3 separate regions of the Homo sapiens genome follow, and all the other regions are linked to region 2. Evidence: promoter capture Hi-C in 16 types of primary human blood cells and fetal thymus (Javierre and others, 2016). All regions are on one chromosome and are shown on one strand. The core of a region is centred on a gene start or on the middle of the fragment in contact, and the rest is flanking DNA. Distances in the headings are between cores, read along the strand shown.

Region 1 (4,733 bases), core at 1,217-3,716, 320 kb after region 2:
GGGAAGGATATTAATAATTTCAAAAGGAGGCATTGCATTCTGCAGCATTTAGTTAGCCACAGTGGAACAATATTAAACTGGATCTGCCTCATTCAGTAACCAAGCGTCAGTCAGTGACCACCTTAAGGGAGCCAAGCTCTAGGGTAGAAGCTATTGGAGTCTTGTGGCCATGATGTTGGAAGGAGAGGAAGGCACCCACTCTGTTTGGGAAAGATGCCTGGGTTGGAGCAACACTCACAGGGACATAGTCAAGGAACAATTCTTAGAAATCACATAGGATTGACCCCCAGCTCCAGACCCCAAGTAGGTAAAGGCCAAGGATAAGACAAATGGAAGAACTGAACCTTAGTCACTGGTAAAATCTCATGGGATTGTCTTAGAGCAGAATCCAGATAAGCTCCACTGCTGAGGCAGACAAAAAGTTAGATGGAGCTAGCACCACAGAGTGGAGAACAAAATTGCTTCAAATGAACCCTAAATAAATGGAAGGAACTTACAGAGTCCTCAGGTCACATTGACAGTATGGTCATACGTGTATTCCAAAAGTTAATGATTAAAAAAGACACACACACACACACACTTTGCCTCAGTTACATTCATGTATCTTATGAAAGCATTCTGCAAAATAATGATAATAAAAATTATTTGACTAACTACCTCAGACTTTTCCCCATTTTTGCATATCTAGCCATTGGCAGCATCTATGCAGAACAGGGAATGAAGATTTCAGATTGCTAAAAAACATTTCTAAAATCTCTTCTGAGAAATATTTTTTAAATGCACTTTGTCATCTTATCTGAATAAATACATTTATAAACATCGTTACCAGGTAGCAAGAGGTGATTCTGTCCAATGTTTGCAGAGATTTTATGGTTGGCAAATATAGTGTGAAATTTGCAAAGATATTGGGCTATGAGTGTGTTTACATTGGATAAGTAAAAAAGCCCCGCTTACCCGGTGAGCTTTATTAATGTAGACAGTCAATTTGAATAATATGGGCCCCAAAGTTTGCTTTTTCTTATCAAAACTTTTAGGTCAAAACTATTGAGAGAATGTTTCATCTCACAGCTCTCTTTCATTTTTATGGGAAGAGGTTTCAAATTTATGAAACACCAAATATTTACTACTTGACAAGATTAAAAGAAATTGCATTTGAAAATATTTGCTGTCAGCATACTCTATGATTTTTAAAAAATTTACTAATGAGGCTTTTAAAAAATAACCTTGGATCTCACAGACTTGAAGCAGTTATATTCTTTGCAGTAACTCTTGGGAAGCCACACATGTAATTAAACCCTGAGTCTAAATCTCTAATCACTTGGTTTTGACAACTTCTGTTTAGTGTGTTCTGCCAACAACATATTAATTAGATGTAACCCAGTGGTTTCAGGTCATTTCAGGAAAGCAAACAGAGCTCCAGGGATTACATGCTAAAACTCAACTATCTTCTTGGCTATTTTGTAAAATAAAGAAAGTGGAGACCTACAGTAATTCTCATAAAGACCAGCTATATGAGGAAAAAGAAGAGGTTTTGGACACATGTATTACCAAGATTATATGTCTCTATTAATTGTTTACTTTGCCAGCTTAGACCTATTCAGAGTAATCTGCTGAGTTCCAAAGGAAAACATAAGGGACTAAATAAACAACTTAAATCTTATGAAATAGTTTATTTGGAGAGTACACTGCTAAATAATAGAAGCAGGTGTGGAAAACATTTGTGCACCACACCAAGGATTTGTACCTAAGTCACTTAGAGGGGAATTATCATAATCATCTGTCCTAGTCATATCAGTGTTTGATATGTTGTCCTCCCAAAAGATTGATAATAAAATAATATCTCATCTTTATTATTATAGTAATAATAAAAATCACTGGACAAAAATCAGTATTTATCTACAATGTTGACTTGAATCATAACATTATTAAAATCCTTACATATATCAAAATAAAGTCATACCAACAGGCTTTATATGATTATAATATTGATTTAAAAATCACTAGGGAAAATGAATCTCTTTAGTATATTTTAGTTTTTTGTTTTTAGAATTTTAGAGAAAAATGTTCCCTGACCTTTTAAATAATTTCCCTGTCAGAAACATTAATTTCCTTCTATATTCAGTGCTGGGCCAGGATGTGGATGCTTTTGCTTTTCCCAACATGTGGTATTGCCTTTGGAGTAAAATTTAAATGGGACCAAGGTATTTCTGCTCCTGGCCCTACAGCTCCTGCCTCCAGGTCTGCAGCCTCTGGGTTTTCCTCAGCACCTTTTGCAGTTCCTTGAAAAGAAGCTTCCCTCTCAAAAGCATTATTAAGATAGACTTTACTGAAGACCTTGAGGAGAGAAAAAGGAGATTTGCTTTGCAAACTTCATAGAAAACAACATAAAAATTATATATATAAAAAAATATCTCCCAAGCTCCTTTCTCAGACACCCGCAACTCTTCTCTCTTTCTGATCATTCTGGCTAGTTTTTACTCTTCTTTCCTTTTGGATCTTCTCCTGGAAACTTCAAATCATTCCCCCATCTTTTGTGCAGAGCCATTCAACTCTGCCCATCTTCCATGCCAACATGGTATACTCAAACCCGGCATATAGGGCTTTCAGCCATAGGGCTAGAGGGACAAGTCCCACAAGCTTTGTAGGATGATTAATTAACCCATAGGGATCTCATCTTCCATACTAAGAAGTTTGTCCAAATGGTGTCTTTTCCTAAAAATATATGATGTTCTCCCTAGGAGAAATTTTGTAGAATAAAAAATTCTCCATTTGTTTTAATAATACTATCATTTTTCTGATTGAGCAATCCTAATATCCTTTAACTACACAGTAAGAAAGGCCAAGGAATAGGATAATGCACAAAGATATCCATCAACTCTCTGGAGAATTGTCTCCTAAAATAAACTCCAAGCAATTATAATATCAAAGTATACATTGCCACATATGTTTTGGTCAATCTAGAAGACCTGATTCTAAATACATATTTTTGTTTGAGAATGACCTTTAATTACTCATCATCACTTCTCCACTACATCCCCTAAGAGTAAATCCAGTTTTTAGATTAAAAAGCCTTAGAAAGTTTTATATCTCATAAGTTTATATTAAGGGGATCTAAATTATTTAAAGGAACAGATTCAGCCAATGAAAGAGCTTCTATTCAAAGACAAATGCTCTTTTCTTACAATATCAAAGAAATTTGGATTTGCAAATGTAGTTATTAAAGATGTCACTGTATGTTTAAGAAGTAACTTGCAAAACTGAATGAGCATTGGCTTAGAAACCTAAGAAGGGCCTTGGTGAGGTGATGAGGAGTTGGGTAAGGGTGGTGTGGGGTAAGTGAAAATGACGCCCATTTGATTTTCTAGTTGTGTGTTGTGATGCATGTTAACTTGACAAGAGAAAGGACTGGCAGCTCATAGTAACAGATCCAGGTCTGACTATGCCTCCATTTCTAACCTGTAACATTGGTGAGTTACCCAATCTTTCTAAGTTCCAACTTTCTCATCTGTAAAAAGGAAATAAGAAATCCTGCCTCAGGGCATTACTGTGAGCATTAATTATGTGAGAGTTTTACACATGGAAAGACATCAAGACAGTGCCATTGGATTTTCACAGATGCAGAGTGGTCAGGGTCTTACTGGTTTTTTTGGTGAGCCTCTTCTTCCTTCTAGTCTCAACCCAGTGTGTCTCCCTGTCAGTTCCCGAAATCATCTGTGCTTGGCACTGAGCAAACTTCTGTGGAGATTACTTTGACCTAATATTTCTCAAAACTTTGCAGGGTTAGTTCTAGGGCCACCTTTTCCATAGGCACTAGGCACATTTACTCTTGTAGGCCTCTGCCTCCAAAAAATCTTAAAAATTATGTTTTGCAAATCTGTTGGTATAAAGATAATTCAGGCTTGATTCATTTTTATATATTCATTATTATATAACATTCACTTTTCCTTCTGATTTTTAAAAGAACTTAGCCCTTTTTTGTGTGCCCCTAAAAGTATATTGGGCCCTAGGCAGGGTGCTTACTGTGCCTAATTCCTTTTTTTAAAAAAAATATTTATTTATTTATTTATCTATATTTTATTTTTTGAGACTGAGTCTTGCTCTGTCACGAGGTTGGGGTATAGTGGCGCGATCTAGGCTCACTGCAACCTCCGCCTCCTGGGTTCAAGCAATTCCCCTGCCTCAGCCTCCTGAGTAGCTGGGACTACAGGCATGTGCCACCACACCCGACTAATTTTTTGTATTTTAGTAGAGACGGGGTTTCACCATGTTGGCCAGGACGGTCTTGATCTCCTGACCTCGTGATCCGCCTGCCTCTGCCTCCCAAAGGGCTGGGATTACAGGCGTGAGCCACCGCTCCCGGCCACTCTGCCTAATTCCTGTCGGAGTCTCCAACTTTTCATTTGTAGTACTTTTTCTTAAGTATTTGAGAAAAATTCTCAATCCCCTCTCTTCTTTTGCTCTTCGTTGCACACATTAATTTTCTCTAATCTTTCTTCATAGATTCATTTCTTTTATCCTTTTATCATCTTGGTTTCCCTCTTTTGGATCCCTGTGGATTTTAGTGAAGGTATTGATGTTTCTTTTTGGTAAGCAGAAAATTATACATAATACCCTGGGCCACCTGATGGAGGCCATAGTGAATAAAATGATTTATTTCCTCTTAGACATGTGAAACTCTACTTTTTGAACTTTTCTAAGTGCATTTGTGCTTTTTAATTTTTATTTGTCTTTAG
Region 2 (4,526 bases), core at 558-3,057:
TGGAAAACCTCCTCTTAACCCTAAGTGTCATTGCTTCGCCTGGCAGCTATATGTGACCTGGTTGGAGGGGAGAGGAGGGTCAAGAAAGGTTATTTCCCCTCTCCACACGCACCCTCCACCCCCGACTTTACATGTAGTAGCCAACTTGACCTTATCTGATCTTTCTGGAATCTTGTGTATAAGTGAGCCACAGTGCATCTCTCGCTATCTTCTAGCTATGTCTTGTTAAAAGCGCATCATTGGGTGGTTGGAAGGCGCCCAGAACCAGATCTCTAAGTGGCTACAGCCACTGGGGAAATGACTCCTCCTAGATTAGAGTCCATTAGCTGGATTCCAGTTTTGAAAGACCTACAAAATCTCCGTGCTTCTTTCTTTTTCTTTCTATCCAAAACTTTCACCTCCTCCAGCCAGGTGTTGCCCAGATATGTAAATAACACCAGAAAGCTGCTGTTGTCCTTCTACGACTATCTTACTGCCATCGGGCGGCAAGGAGGTGGCAGATGTCTGTATTTTTGAACAAACACTCTTAAAGTTGTTCTGAATATCAGCAGAATGGCACACACCCCTCTTCAAAGTATTTATTTTCTCAGTGGCAATTAGCGCCACAAACGAGAGGATGAGTGCCCCGTCACTGGTGTTCTCACTGATTTTTATGGTAGATGAAACAACTCCCTCCAAACGCACCTCTAGGAGCCGAATCTGGTCACCGGCGTACCAAAACCAAGCCGGGAGTCGAGTCTGTAGGGGGTGATTCGTGAGGACAACAATTGTTTTTGGGACAATTTGACTTTTTCTTGATGCTACCTGTTGTGTTTTCTCAGATGAGAGAAAGAGAAGGCGGTTCAAATTAGAGGGTCTCTAAAAGATAATTAGTCAGCAAGAGTCCTGGTGAGCGTTTGTTTAAACAGCTCCTATTAGGGAACCGCGAGCATCGTTAAGTTCATTCATGTAGACTGTATCCTTTCTGTAAGGAATAATCATGTTGGACTTTTGTTTCCTGAAACAAAACCCGACAAAGAGTTGGCTAATGTTTAAGATAAAGGACTGTTGGGAGCTATGTATCTCTATATCAATCATTCTATTTTGCCCTGAAATGTAAGCTTTTCCCCTAGTGTCCCCCTAGCTGCTCCCCATAGGAAAACTCCCCGGCCGAGTTTCCACGGTGAAAAAAATCAGCCCCAAACCCAAGCCATTTCGAAAAAGACGCACTTCTTTGGGATTAATTTAAAGACAGTTATTGTATTTATTTCCTCTGGCAATGAATTCCGTGTCGCCATGGTTTCAGAGAAACGAGAAAGAGAAAATAACTCCCCAAACCGGCCTCGCGCACGCCGTCGGCCAGCGACTGCCAGCGGGATGGGCCTTTGGGCGAACCCTGCCTCCTCCGCCGGTAGACCTAACCCGCAGGCCCGACCTCCGCTGCCTCCGGACGTTCCCGGTTCTGCTGGGCCGCCGCGCTGGACTGAGCGCTCAACCACCCGACCCCAGGGAGCTCGAGGAGCGCGGGTCGCGCACGACGTCGGGAAGGCCCAGGAGGCCGCGAGCAGCGGCGGCAACCGGACAGCGCCGACCCGGCACCCTGAGCTCATTAGGAGTCCAGCGGTCCCGCGGGTAGTAAGATTCAGAGCCCGGAGCCTGGGCGCGCGGAGGGCGGCTCGGGGCCGACTCGTGTCACTCAGCCCTATTGGCCAATGAGCGCCTCGCCCCTGGCCGCGCCAGGCCAATGGGAGGCGAGGGGGCTTGTGAGTGGCATTGAGGGAGGGCGGGAGAGAGGCGGCCCCGGAGTGAAGTTGAAGCTAAACCCTTAAGCTATAAAGAAGTTACGGGGGGCAGTTTTCGGCTTCCAATTAGGAATAATAGTGAACTGGCTTCGTAGCAACTACGGAGGACCAGGATTCTAAAATCACCTCACTCGTCCCAAAGCTTGCATCCTCCTCTTTCTGCCACGCACCCCTCCTCCAATTCATGATCCAGAAAAGGGAGCCGGGAATGCTCTGCTCCTCTCTGCCGGTGGGAAGCGGAGAGGCCGGCGGTGTCGCTGGGTTGGACGGTAGGCATGAGAACAGTTAAGAGATGGGCGCCCCCGAAACCTCTGCCGCTTGTGGGGACTGAAGGTAGGTGAAGCAGAAGACGCCCCGCGCCCGCCCAGCAGCCCCGCAGCTCCGCGGTGGTGTGGGAGAGGCCGCGGCGCCTCCCACCCCCGGGGGAGCCTGCGAGGGGCTGTCGCGAGCGCGCCACCTGTTAACCTGGCGCTGCTGGGCCCCGCTTGTTGCAGCCCCTGCTGGGCAGCCAGAGCGCTGGGTCGCCTTGGGAGTCCCGAGAGACTTGGTGTGTAAGTGTCACTTTTTGAGGAATCCCTCAGACTTGAGACCCAAGTTAAAGAGGTAGCCAAGGTCCAGATCTGCCAAGGTAGGGAGCTGAAAGGCCCCTGCCTCGCCTTGGAGGAATTCTGATTTGCGGAAACCTGCTTTCCTGGGACGTGCGCCCGGCCTGGGCGCGGACTCGGGGATCCGCGGCGGAAGATCCCTTGCGGGTCTTCAGAAATATGTATTTTGTTGTTTGGGCAACTTCCCAGGGGTCTGGAGGATGCGGCTGGCATGGGTGAGGGAATGCCAGCATTATTTGCAGGGGGCTGTCTCGCTGCCGATTTACCCGTTTCTTTAAAAACAAACCCAAAACGCCTGGCTAGGCGCACTGAGGCCCTTTCCGGCCGTGTTTTTGGAATTGGGACGAGTGTGTGAGTACTTGTGGAGCCGCTGATCTCTTATGCTCTGATGCTGTTGTCTTCACAGGGCCTTGAAAGAGTTGTCTGGGGTTCCTGCTCTTCCCAAAGGGGCTCGGAGATACCTTAAATGCCGCGAGACTGAAGAGCAAACGTCAGGGATTATTATGTCGATTTTCCGAGGACCAGGGTTCGCAGCTGGCAGTAGAAGAAAAGGCTGGCTCCTCAGGGGTCCCACTGGCATTTGATACCCTGAACGACCCTCAGGATTGCCCAAATTCGGTGGATCGCCCAAATTCGGTGGATCAGCAACTTTCCTATACTGCATCCCGAATTTTCAAAGAACATATTTTCCGTTCACCCCCGCTGGTCTTTTACTGCCATCAATACACTGTTCTTGGTGCAAATACTTCAGCCTCTTTATTCAAAGTATGTTTTATGTTTTTGCCAAATATGATCTCTAATTGAAAGTTTATTTTTGGTTTTGGATGAATCTGCGGAGCTTAAGTTGTGAGAAGAAAGGGGGAACAAGACACAATGAAAGAAAAGTCCAAAAATGCTGCGCGGACTAGGAGGGAGAAGGAAAACAGTGAATTTTATGAACTGGCTAAATTACTGCCTTTGCCCTCGGCTATCACCTCGCAGCTGGACAAAGCATCCATAATCAGACTCACGACCAGCTATCTCAAAATGAGAGTGGTGTTCCCAGAAGGTAAGTGACTTTGCCCAGATGGAATTTCAAAGGCAGAAGGGGCCGGGGATTTGCCAGGCAATGAGCCGACATCAGTGACCAGAGAAATGCATACATATTTACATATATATTTTGCAAAGGGAAGTTTAGCTCGGCTGCTTCACTAAGGTCCTCACTGAACTCAGAATTTCTGTCGCTTTTTTGAGGCTCCCTCTACCTCCCCATCAATACTTTCTCTTCAGTCCATCAGATATGTTTGGTTGGGAAGCAGCCCAACAGTCCTTTTGTCAACACTTCAGATACTAGGCTCAATTGAAAGTACTACTAATCCAAACATGACTTTCTTTTTTACTCCTCTTGTTAGAATTTTGTCCAGTAAAAACCAGGAGCACCGCCTAATTCTGTATTTTTTTTTTGCCAGGTGTGGATAGACCCATGTACCTGGAGCTAGATAGGCCAGATAATAATTTCTCTATATATCTAAAGATTTGCAAATGAGTAACATGCATATTTGTGAACAAGTATGCCTGAATTTACTCAAGTTCTTAAATAAATTCTAAGCAAATTTATTCCGAGTTTTCAAGACATTCGCAGATTCTGAAACTAACTCTGGAGCTTGATGATTTGCAACTGTGGGCTTGATGTTATCTGTAAGATAATAGGCTAGTCCTAAAATACATAAGATTGAATTAAGATGGCTAGCCCGCTTAGAAAATATCTTCTGGGTGGCAGGTTGGCAAATAGATCCTGAGAAAATTGTCTTATAAGGCCTAGAAGTTAGAATAGCTGAGCTGTTGACATGATTTAAAACTCATATTTAGATTATCAAGATTCACTGTGTGAGGACAGAGCAGCTTTCATAGAACACTGTCCTATATACAACCATTTATACTTACTAGAAAAGGACACTTTTCTATTTGTCCATCTTTTCCTTTACTTGGATTCAAATAATGCAAACAGATTTTTAAAAATATTTTAGATATGTCTTTGCTGGGGGAAGGGGATTCAGAAATGTAAAAGAGGGATTACTGAACAAGCAAACAAACAAAAATCCAAGGGAAAGAATTGTGTTTATTTACAAATGAGAACTTCTGATTTGACCCCTGGAGGTTT
Region 3 (4,205 bases), core at 1,156-3,655, 270 kb after region 2:
ATACAGGTGATCTGAATTTATTTCTTTTTTTTTATTGTACTTTAAGTTCTAGGGTATGTGTGCACAACGTGCAGGTTTGTTACGTATGTATACAGGTGCCATGTTGGTGTGCTGCACCCATTAACTCGTCATTTACATTAGGTATATCTCCTAATGCTACCCCTCCCCCCTTCCCCCACCCTACAACAGGCCCTGGTGTGTGATGTTCCTCTTCCTGTGTCCAAGTGTTCTCATTGTTCAATTCCCACCTATGAGTGAGAACATGCAGTGTTTGGTTTTTTGTCCTTGCGATAGTTTTGCTGAGAATGGTGGTTTCCACCTTCATCCATGTCTGTACAAAGGACATGAACTCATCCTTTTTTATGGTTGCATAGTATTCCATGGTGTGAATTTATTTCTTTAAATTTATTTGTATCTCCTAGTTTTCTACAACGAATAGGAATTTGTTATGTAATAATTTTTGAAAATAGTATTTTTAGGTTTCTAGTGAATTGCAAATACTTTGAGCATGAATAGTAAACAATTTGGTTTTAAAAATGTGTTTTTGTATACATTATTTTAAAAATATAGGACATTTAGAGTTAAGTTTCACATATATCCTTTACCAAAAACATATTCAATGATTCGATTCTAAATGTGGAGTCATTAAATATTTGTCAATCATATTCTTTATTTTTGAAAAAGATTCAACTTTCTTGCTGAATCTTTGTCCCTATATTTGTTTCTTTGCCCAAGTTCACTTACAGGGCAAACTATAAGATGCTTTTTCTATTGGCAAGCTGGTCACAAGAAGATTATTAAATTTTAGAGTTGGTTAGGACCATCTACTCTGAAGTCCCATACCGAGTGACATAAATACTTCCTACTTTGTTCCTACATGGAACAAAGTAAATTTAAAAAGTATAGTAAAAAGTATAGTTAAAAAAAAAGAACTCTGTTTTTATTACATATGTGGGAAAATTTCGATTTGTCTCCCTGTCACAAATTTCTCAGTCTTATTGTTAATGGTCCAAGATCAAAGCAAGGTCTGAGAGTAGGCGTTCTGGAGTTGTTTGGGGTTAGGTCAGTTGTAGCAGCTGTTTGCATTTAAAGTTAAGTTTCTGTTCCAAGTCCTACCCATCCAATCATAAAAGGGTAAATGAGGTGAGATTGGCCAGCAATTTATATCTGGGTCAAAACTTAAGAGGATTGTCAATGTACATGGCTCTGGAGTCGGAGTATTGTCTACTTTTGAGGTACAGTGCATTTTCATCATGCTATTGAATGGCTTTTGTTTTTGTTGCTTTTTTTTTTTGTTTGGTTATTTGCTTTTTAGGCTTTGTTGTTGTTGTTGTTGTTAAAGTAGATGTGCCTTTAAGCTTTGTTTACTCTTGGCAATAATAGATCTTTTTGCTTTAAGGAAACAAAGCTTATAAAAAAATCTTACAAGTCGTTTTGGACGTCAAATGGCTCTTACAAATGATTTAATTATAAGTTAATCAAGAACATGTGGATTATATTTCTCTTCCTAAATACTCATTGGTTTAACATTGCAGGCAAGCTCTTAGAGTGCTTCAGAATATTTGTTGTTACTTATTGGCTTTCCAAATAGGAATGAAGTGATGGAGAAAATAAAAATTCAGGCCAGGCACTGTGGCTCACACCCGTAATCCTAGAACTTTTGGAGGCCAAGGTGGGCGGATCACAAGGTCAGGAGATCAAGACTATCTTGGCCAACATGGTGAAACCCCGGCTCCACTAAAAATACAAAAATTAACTGGACGTGGTGGCGTATGCCTGTATTCCTAGCTACTCGGTAGGCTGAGGCAGGAGAATCACTTGAACCGGGGAGTCAGAGGTTGCAGTGAGCCGGAATCACGCCACTGCACTCCAGCCTGGCGACAGAGAGACTCTGTCTCAAAAAAAAAATAAAAATAAAAATAAAGAAAACAAAATTTAGATCCCTTTCTCCAATCACCTCAAACTGTTAGAACAACAGTTTTTGTATAAGCATTCATTCATAGGCAGAAGTAGTAGTTAATGGAACAAAATTTGCCCAATGACATGCTCTATTTAAAAACGTTCTTTTTGTTAGAGTGGTCAAAACTATGACTTATTCCTTTGTGAAGACAGCTGAACCTAGGGCTTTCTTGGTTAGCGTACATCATGGCATTGCACATTGGCACGTTTTTCAGTGATATTGACATGCATTGCTTAAATGAATGAAAATTTTTACTGTATGTAACACATTTTGTAGAAACTATACTTTCTTATACCAATTCATAGACCGATGCATGTAACCTTGCTCTTGAAAAATGAAATTATATTATCTTTTTGCCATATTTATTGAAAAAGGATATAATTTTATTTCTATTTTTTTCTTGCTCTTTTTCTTTGAATAGGAACATCAGCTGGCCTGTGCCTGAAACTCTTTCTGTATACATTTTCTAAGAAATGCTAAGGTGTGGTAATTGCTAAGGTGGACAATTGCTCAGGTGTGGCATTAGCTCAGTCCATGCACTGATATGTAAACCTATTGGCAAATTCTCTTTTCAAATGACTTAGTCATATAATCATATTGATTTAGCTGATATGGTTATTCTTCTTTCACACTACTGCTAACCAAGAATCAAATTTCCTGCTATAGCTTCCTAGGCCCTGGTCTGGACTGCTTTGACCTCCTTTTGCACCCTTCTCTGTCTCACTGTTCTCCAGCCACACTAACCTACCTTCTGCTTCTCAAAGGAAAGCAGCAAGCATGCTGCCACCTGCTTTTTCCCAGGCCTCAGCACCGGTGGGCCTCAGAGATGTTTTTCCTGTCCACCTATTTGAAGACACTGCATGTCTACTCCCTTGAAAATTCTCCTTCCATACTTAATTTCCTACATTGAATATGTCACTATTTGGATCATTTTAATGCATTTATTTTTTTCCTACCAGCTTCCCTTCATTAGAAAATAAGATTTAGGGGAGCTTATTGTCTTGATCAATGATGTGAGAAGGAGGTTGGCACATAGTAGGTTCTAAATCAACATTGTATAATGAAGAAATAATGAACAAACCAATGTTACTTTCATATAACCCTTGCAGAAGACTGTATATATTTCTTTAGAGAGATGGGTTGCTGTAAAAAAATGGAAAGAATGACTCAAATAAAGAACTTTAATGCTGGGGCTTCTGCTGGAGATTAGGACCCTTAAGTGTGCTCCATGTTTTCCTCTGGTCCAGAGAATTTCACCTCTGGTTGAAGAAAGAACCTTATCCCCACCAAAGAATAGTGCCCAATGGAGAGGAAGCATCTCTAGGACCATTCCTGGAGAGATGGATTAGCAACAGGGAACAAATGGCTATGTCACAGCATAAAGAAAACACTGCTGAAGAGGTGGTGGCCAGGAAAGCCACACTGCATGTTCCTGAAGCTTCTAAGAGATGGAGAGTTGGTAATGGATGAGTGATCTTCATGATCGAATCTACTCAGAAGAAAGGGAAAATAAGAGCTGTCTGGAGTTTTGGTAATTTGTCCTGCAGGGCTTGCCAAGAGAGAAATCATTATAGTTTAAAAAATCAATATTATTATTATGCTACCTCTTAATTAGAGTCCCCAGGTTGTTGTATTATGGCAAACTTCATTACATATTTTCAAATAAAACCTGCCCCCACTCTACTTCCAAGAACCAACATCCCTTGGGTGCCACAGCTATACTCATCTTCATTTGAGCTCAATATCCTGTTTTTATAATATAGTCCCCTTCCTCTCATCATTTGAAAACATTTCAAAAGTAAATTGACTTTTTTTTGGTGTGACCTCCTCCTTTCATGTCCCTAAAAGAATTAAAGCTGGGCAGCAAAAACAATATTGCTTACATTTTTACAAAAATTATTATTTGAATGTAGAAGATTTTCAGTCTATGAACTATAAAGTTTTATTTTGTTCCTACTAAATTTAATTTGAGAGATTGAATGTATTTGTATAATATGATTTAAGGTTTTCAACTGGGAATAATAAAGTTAATAATAAACTAATAAATTTATTGCCGCTCAAATAATGAGTGGAGTAATGACTAACGTGTGTGTGTTTGTGTATGTGTGTGTGTGTGTGTGTGTATGTGTGTGTTGTCTTTCTTTTGGTTATAGATGGAATAGTTTACATATGGTGACAATAAGTAAAGGACCAGATCTCTCATTCCTCATTCAGTTCAGTTTAATACAAACCAACAAACATATCA

Evidence for each region. The method cuts DNA at HindIII sites, captures the fragments that hold promoters and counts their contacts. A CHiCAGO score of 5 or more calls a contact.
Region 1: a contact is called between a fragment that was not itself captured here and the fragment with the promoter of SIM1 in region 2, in 1 of 17 cell types (endothelial precursors). The highest score is 9.9, in endothelial precursors.
Region 3: a fragment that was not itself captured here is called in contact with the fragment with the promoter of SIM1 in region 2 in 1 of 17 cell types (endothelial precursors); the score reaches 8.8 in endothelial precursors.

Annotation. Positions count from the first base shown.
Region 1 is chr6:100,143,982-100,148,714 of GRCh38, reverse strand. No RefSeq gene overlaps it. Among named protein-coding and RNA genes, the nearest start is that of MCHR2, 150 kb to the right of the region's middle. The HindIII fragment of the contact is 346 bases long and covers 2,294-2,639 here.
Region 2 is chr6:100,462,202-100,466,727 of GRCh38, reverse strand. It overlaps SIM1 (SIM bHLH transcription factor 1), which reads left to right and starts at 1,807. Exons shown (of 12, transcript NM_005068.3): 1 at 1,807-2,114; 2 at 2,793-3,434. The coding sequence starts at 3,260. The HindIII fragment of the contact is 823 bases long and covers 1,103-1,925 here.
Region 3 is chr6:100,191,595-100,195,799 of GRCh38, reverse strand. No RefSeq gene overlaps it. Among named protein-coding and RNA genes, the nearest start is that of MCHR2, 200 kb to the right of the region's middle. The HindIII fragment of the contact is 1,990 bases long and covers 1,411-3,400 here.